Linked DNA regions of Homo sapiens: region 1 is linked to region 2. Evidence: promoter capture Hi-C in human tissues and cell types (Jung and others, 2019). All regions are on one chromosome and are shown on one strand. The core of a region is centred on a gene start or on the middle of the fragment in contact, and the rest is flanking DNA. Distances in the headings are between cores, read along the strand shown. Region 1 overlaps LOC124903907 (a long non-coding RNA gene). Region 2 holds the start of SLC13A5 (solute carrier family 13 member 5).

Region 1 (3,357 bases), core at 564-3,063, 160 kb before region 2:
CCAAAAATTAGGAAATAATGTTTGATGGCGGCCATTGTTAAGCCTCCAGAACCTATACCTTTAAAATGGTTAACAGATAAGCCAATTTGGATAGAACAATGGACGCTAAGTAAAGAGAAACTGGAGGCTTTAGATAAATTAGTTACTGAACAATTAGAAAATGGGCACATAGCTCCAACATTTTCCCCTTGGAATTCTCCAGTTTTCGTAATTAAGAAAAAATCAGGTAAATGCAGAATGTTAACTGACTTAAGAGACATCAATTCAGTTACACAACTTATGAGAGCATTACAGCCAGGATTGCCTTCTCCTGCTATAATTCCAAAAAATTGGCCTTTGATAGTCAAAGATTTAAAAGACTGTTTCTTTACTATCCCTTTAGCTGAGCAAGACTGTGAACAGTTTGCATTTACAATTCCTGCAGTAAACAACCTGCAGCCTGCTAAGCGTATTCATTGGAAAGCGTATTCATTGGAAAGGGGCATGTTAAATAGCCCCACAATTTGCCTGACATATGTGGGGCAAGCAATTGAACCTACTCGTAAAAAGTTTTTACAGTGTTACATTATTCACTATATGGATGATATACTTTGTGCTGCCCCACTCGAGAAATATTACTCCAATGTTATGATCACTTGCAAAATTCGATTTCTTGCGTTAGTTTAATTATAGCTCCTGACAAAATTCAGACTACTACTCCTTATTCTTACTTGGGGACCTTAGTAAATGACACTACCATTGTGCCACAGAAAGTAACCATACTTAGGGATAAATTAAAAACATTAAATGATTTTCAAAAATTACCAGGGGATATTAATTGGATACGACCTGCTCTAGGCATTCCTACCTATGCCATGAGTAATCTGTTTTCTATCCTTAGAGGAAATCCTAGTCTCACTAGCCCTTGGCAATTAACAAACGAGGCAGAGGCAGAGTTACAACTGATTGAGAAGCAAGTCCATAAAGCTCAAATAAATAGAATAGATCCAGAGAAGACTCTAGATTTGCTAATTTTTTCAACTCAGCATTCACCCACTGGTGTTATTGTCCAAGAACAGGACTTAGTAAAATGGCTTTTTCTTCCACATACTAATTCATGGACTCTAACTCCTTATTTAGATCAAATCACTACTATAGGGAGTAGGAGAACTCAGATTGTTAAATTACATGGATATGATCCTAGAAAAATTATTGTCCCTCTCACGAAGGCACAAATACAGCAAGCTTTTATAAAAAGTCTTACTTGGCAAACCCATTTAGCTGACTTTGTGGGTATTCTCAATAATCATTTTCCTAAAATGAAGCTGTTTCAGTTTTTGAAATTAACTAATTGGATTCTCCCCAAAATAACTAAGTTTAAATCAATTGAAGGGGCTGAGAATGTTTTTACAGATGGGTCTAGTAATGGTAAAGCTTCTTATTTTGGCTCAAAAAGTAAAGTTTTCCAGACGTCCTATACTTCAGCTCAAAAAGCAGAGCTTGTAGTGGTAATTGAGGTATTGACTGCTTTTGATGTGCCTATTAATGTGATTTCTGATTCTTCATATGTGGTTCATTCCAACAGAGTTAATTAAAAATGCTCAGTTATGATTTCATACAGATACACAACTGATGACTTTATTTACCCAATTGCAAACAGCAGTTAGACGTAGAATGCACCCTTTTTACATCACTCACATTAGGGCTCATATACCTCTTCCAGGATCTTTGACTGAAGGGAATCAAATGGCTGATCGCCTAGTTGCTAATGCAATATCTAATGCTAGACACTCACAATTTAACCCATGTTAATGCCTCTGGTCTCAAACGCAGATACAGCATTACCTGAAAAGAAGATAACCTGGGGTAGAGGTTATGCTTGTGTTTCTCCAGGCCAAAATCAACAGCTGATCTGGATACCATCAATACACCTGAAACCTTAGCATAAGCCAGATTACAGGAGGATCCCGAGGACCCCCCAGTTGCAGCCATGTCAAGACTGATGCTGAGGAGGACCCCAATTGTCACGAGCAACACCCGTCAAACACAGCCACCCACCTGGGGACAGATCAAGAAGCTGTCACAGATGGCGGAAGAAAACCTGAGGAAAGCGGGACAACCAGTCACAATGAATAATTTAATGGTAGCTATGATAGCGGTTATCACCACTGCCATGAGTATTCCTTCAACAGGGGCTGACACAGAGAACAGTTATACTTATTGGGCATATTTATCAATCTTGGCCGGCAATAATGCCTGGATGCAATCACTCTGACACAGTTACACATGCTTTCTGATCTCAGTATTTACCATAATAAATCTGCTCATATAATTGAGGCATACCATCCTCAAAAACCTTTTTGTAAACAGGATTGGACCCAGTTAGAAAAAGATGAACGTACTTGTTTAGGAAGATTGCTTTGCAGAACAGACAGAGGTGCTGCACAATGATTCCTATGGAATCATTATTAATTGGTACCCTAAGGGGATGTTTAGCTTGAATTGCACCTCTCAGTCTGCGTGCCATGGCCACACTATGTTCAGATGATCTGAACAAAACGGTCAGATGGTAGAAATGATAAGAAGTATGGCAAAAGTTCCTATTATCTGGAACCGTGGCGGTATAGTGGCACCTCAACCTCAAATGATATGGCCTGCTCTAGAAGCTTAACATAAGGATTTGTGGAAACTATTAGATGTTCTTAATAAGATCAAAATTTGGGAAAGAATAAAAAGGCATCTAGAAGGACACTCTACAAACTTGTTTTTGGATATGGCAAAATTAAAAGAACAAATATTTAAAGCATCCCAGGCACACCTGACCTTAATGCCAGGAACTGGAGTCCTTAAAGGAGCTGCAGACAAATTAGCAGCTAGTAACCCATTAGAATGGATAAAAACACTTGGAAGCTCTGTATTTCAATGATGATTGTGCTTTTAATCCATGTTGTTTGTCTTTGTATAGTGTGCAGATGTGGATCCTGACTCCTGTGAGAAGTAGCTCACTGTGACAAAGCTGCCTTTGCTTTTATCTCTTTGCAAATCAAAGAAGGGAGACATGTTGGGAGCAGGCCCCCCCAAAATCTGGCCATAAACTGTCCCCAAAACTGGCCATAAACAAAATCTCTGCAGCACTGTAACATGTTCATAATGGCCCTTAACACCCAAGCTGGAAGGTTGTGGGTTTATTGGAATGAGGGCAAGGAACACCTGGCCCGCCCAGGATGGAAAACCACTTAAAGGCATTCTTAAGCCACACACAATAGCATGAGCAATCTGTGCCTTAGGGACATGCTCCTGCTGCAGTTAACTAACCCAACCTATTCCTTTAATCCGGCCCATCCCTTCGTTTCCCATAAGGGATACTTTTAGTTAATT
Region 2 (3,665 bases), core at 900-3,399:
CACCATGGCACATGTATACCTATGTAACAAACCTGCACATTCTGCACATGTATCCCAGAACTTAAAGTAAAATTAAAAAAAAAGAAAAGAAAAAAGAACTGAAGTTGTTTACTTGCTCTCATTCATGCATCCCGGAGAAAAAGGTTTGAGTGCACATCCTGGATTAGGCACTGAGAAAGGCACTAGCTGGACAGGTGGTGATGAATAAAACAGACAGTAAATAGAAATTACATCATAATAATGTGTCATATATTTTAAAATAGCTACAAGATATTTTAAATGTTCTCACCACAAAGAAATGACAAATATTTGGGCCAGACGCGGTGGCTCACGCCTGTAATCCCAGCACTTTGGGAGACCGAGGTGGGCGGATCACCTGAGGTCAGGAGTTCGAGACCAGCCTGGCTAACATGGTGAAACCCCATTTCTACTAAAAATGCAAAAAATTAGCCGGGCGTGGTGGTGCACACCTGTAATCCCAGCTACTTGGGAGGCTGAAGCAGGAGATTTGCTTGAACCTAGGTGGCAGAGGTTGCAGTGAGCCGAGATCGTGCCACTGCACTCCAGCCTGGGTGACAGGAGCACAACTCTGTCTCAAACAAACAAACAAAAAACAAAAACAAGAGAAATGATAAATATTCGAGTGATAAATATGCTCATTAGCCTGATTTGAACACACCACAATTATACACACATTGAAAAATCACATGGTACCCCGTAAATATAGACAATGATTTGTCAATTAAAAATGAAATAACACTTAAAAAATAAAAAAGTAAAAAGTAAAAATTACACCAATAAATATAAGAGGTACAAATTGTGCTAAGTGCCCTGGGGACACAGGAAAGGCGGGAAAACCCAGGGCTATATGCATGAGAGTTACAAAGGGAAAAGGACAGGAGGGAGGCAATTGCAGGAGGGGCTTGGGAGAATGCATGTCCTTGGGTGCAGGTCACAGGAAGGAACTCATGAGCTTGATTCAGGATGTGTTGAATTTTCGGGCCGAGACACGTCCAGTCTGCGGAAGGCTGGACATCTGGGACTCTGGCATCATGGCTGGGTTGAAGGCAGAGGATGGTAATCACTAAGGAGCCGGCTGTGGTTAGGCCACCAGCATGGATGAGACTCCCCAAAAGGAAGCTGCAGAATGAGAGGCAGGCAGAGGAGAGGAAAGAAGAAAATCACAGAGGTGGGGATGTCTTTGCATCCGTGTGTCTCCAGTGCCCAAAACAGGGCCTCGCGGAGAAGAGGTGCTCGGCACCTGTCTGTTGCCTGGCGGGCTGAATGAATACATGGGCGACTGTCTCAGTGTCGCCTTAGTTGTGTCCCTTCCTCTCTAGAGCTCCGTTTCCCTCTGACCTGGGTCGGGCGGGCAGCTGCGGCTGCTGAGGCTCGGTGGGGCCCCTCCAAGACGCGTGTCCGCATCTGCCCGCCGGGCGTCTGCGGGGTGCAGCGTCCACTGGAGCGCGACAGCCCCTGGGACAGAGGAGGACAGTGGCCTCGCTTCCCTGTGCGATCGCCCAGGAGCTCCGGGCCGGAGAGTGCGAGCGGGGAAAAGGGGTCCTGCACCTAGAGTGGGGCGGACGTGGCGAGGAAGCCAGGGGGGACCGGGAAGCGAGGCCCGCGGTGCGGAGGGCGCGGGGCGTGGGGGGACACCTCTCGGAGAGACACCGGAGGGGCGGAAGTAAGGAGATGGAAAGGAGAGGGAGATCGGGGAGATAGACCTGAGAGACCCAGAGGCCTGCAGAGAGTTTCATCCGGGACCCTTCAGAGCCCAGGAAAGAGCAGATGCGGACGCGGGAGGGCGCCTTACGCCAAAGCGGGCAGCACCAGTGACCAAAACACGCCCCGCTTGGCAGCCCCGGGACGCACCTCTGCCTCGGCAGCGCAGGAGAGGCTTGGACAGCGCGAGATGCTAGGGCCCAGGCTGCCCCTAGAGGGCTGGCCCGAAGCGTTGGAGTCCAAAGACGCCTCCCACCGCCGCCGGGTGGCAGAATTGGGGGCAGGCGCGTCCCACAGACCCCGAGGGGTGGCCCCGCCCCAGGGCCGCGGGGAGGCGCCCCCGTGCGGGGCGGAGTTGTCACCGCCCCCTCCCCAATCCCCGGGGACTGTGGCCCCTTCTTAAGCCCGCGGCGCCTCTAGCTGCCCCTCACTCGTCTCGCCCGCCAGTCTCCCTCCCGCGCGATGGCCTCGGCGCTGAGCTATGTCTCCAAGTTCAAGTCCTTCGTGATCTTGTTCGTCACCCCGCTCCTGCTGCTGCCACTCGTCATTCTGATGCCCGCCAAGGTCAGTTGCATCTCCAGGCAGCCCTTCGGACACCCGGCGTCCTGTGCCCACTAACGGGCACCGATCCCGGGAGCCCTGAGCTGGAGCGCACGGATTTCGCGGGGAGCACAGCTCTCCCGGGGCGCGCGCACTCAGGAGCTCCAGGTGCCGGATGGGAGGTGCCCTGTAAAGAATCTGAGGGGCATGGCGACCCCAGGGCGCACCACCCTTGGGGTTTACAGATCCCAGGGCGCAAGAGCCGTCCAGGCAAGCACGGAAACCTCGAAGTGAGCACAGATCTCAGCCACACAGATCCCAGCCTTAGGCTCAGCCCCTGGCTCCGAATCGAATCTCCCACAGTGCATAACCCTGTTTCCCCCCAAAATGCCACCTGCGCCAACAGGGAACCTGGGAGCTTGCCTTTCCCTCTCTCTCTCCTGTCTTTTCCCTTCGCCAAAGAAGACTTCAAGCTGTAGGTGGCTTCTGCCGTCAGGAGGGACCTACAGGAAAAAAATCATCACCCACGTGGATCCTGCGCTGTCTTTGCCACTCTCTGGCCCTTCCTTGGGCCTTAGTGTCTCTATCTATGATCCACATTCCTTCCAACCTGGAGAGCCACATCTGATTCATAATCCTGCTCCAGGCTGCAGGCAGGTTGGGGTTGGCCTGCTTTGCCTCCTGCCTGCTGGGGCTGTAGCAGGAGGCGGGACACATTCCCAGAGCTCGCGCCTTGGGTGGCAGGACCTGGAGTTGCAGGGAAGCTTCCTCCCAGGCCCTAGTCTCCTAATGCTTCTGTGAGGGAGAGAGAGAATGAATGGCCTTGGCCGCAGGGTGGGCGCAGGCTCCACTGGGCTGTGCACAGCCAGTTTGGCGGAGGCCCAAGCCCTTTGAAGCCTTTTGTGGCTGCTGGCTGCTCCTTCCTCGTTCCTTCTTTCAGCCCTTTCACTCTCAGCCCAGACAGGAAACCTCCAGCTCCCCACCTCCCCTCCCCAGGCAGGTTTGGGAAACAGAGGAGCTCTTCAGGGGATGCTCTGGGGGGGAGCTCTAGAGGAAGGGAGTGCACTGGGGTGTCAGGAAGCCAACCTGCAAGAGAACTGGACTTCCACCATTCTGTCATCTGTGTGACTTTAGCCAAGTGCCTGTGCTCTCTGGGCCTTGGTGTTCTCATCTGTACAATGGGGCTAGGTGGTTTGGTTCTGACACTTTAAGGCTTTGGGAATCAAAAGGGATTAACGTTAGTTCCTAGGATGGGGGAGGGGGAGACTGGGAGGAGCCCTTGGGTGGGCCTAGCACAGGCCCTGGATGGGTCAAGGACAGCAGATCCAACTGTGGAGGCTGTGCAGTTGCCACACCAACTGTGGGCAGCCACACTTCCTCTGTAGCAAGAAGTCTGGGGTTGT

The links. Contacts are between HindIII fragments. The study calls those that stand out against the background at their distance.
Region 1: a fragment that was not itself captured here is called in contact with the fragment with the promoter of SLC13A5 in region 2 in 2 of the 25 tissues and cell types used here (H1 embryonic stem cells and ovary).

Annotation. Positions count from the first base shown.
Region 1 is chr17:6,875,343-6,878,699 of GRCh38, reverse strand. LOC124903907 (a long non-coding RNA gene) reads left to right here. Exons shown (of 2, transcript XR_007065596.1): 2 at 1,813-3,357. It also overlaps the pseudogene ALOX12P2. Among named protein-coding and RNA genes, the nearest start is that of TEKT1, 45 kb to the right of the region's middle. The HindIII fragment of the contact is 3,980 bases long and covers 1-3,357 here.
Region 2 is chr17:6,711,853-6,715,517 of GRCh38, reverse strand. SLC13A5 (solute carrier family 13 member 5) reads left to right here and starts at 2,149. Exons shown (of 12, transcript NM_177550.5): 1 at 2,149-2,286. The coding sequence starts at 2,185. The HindIII fragment of the contact is 16,548 bases long and covers 1-3,665 here.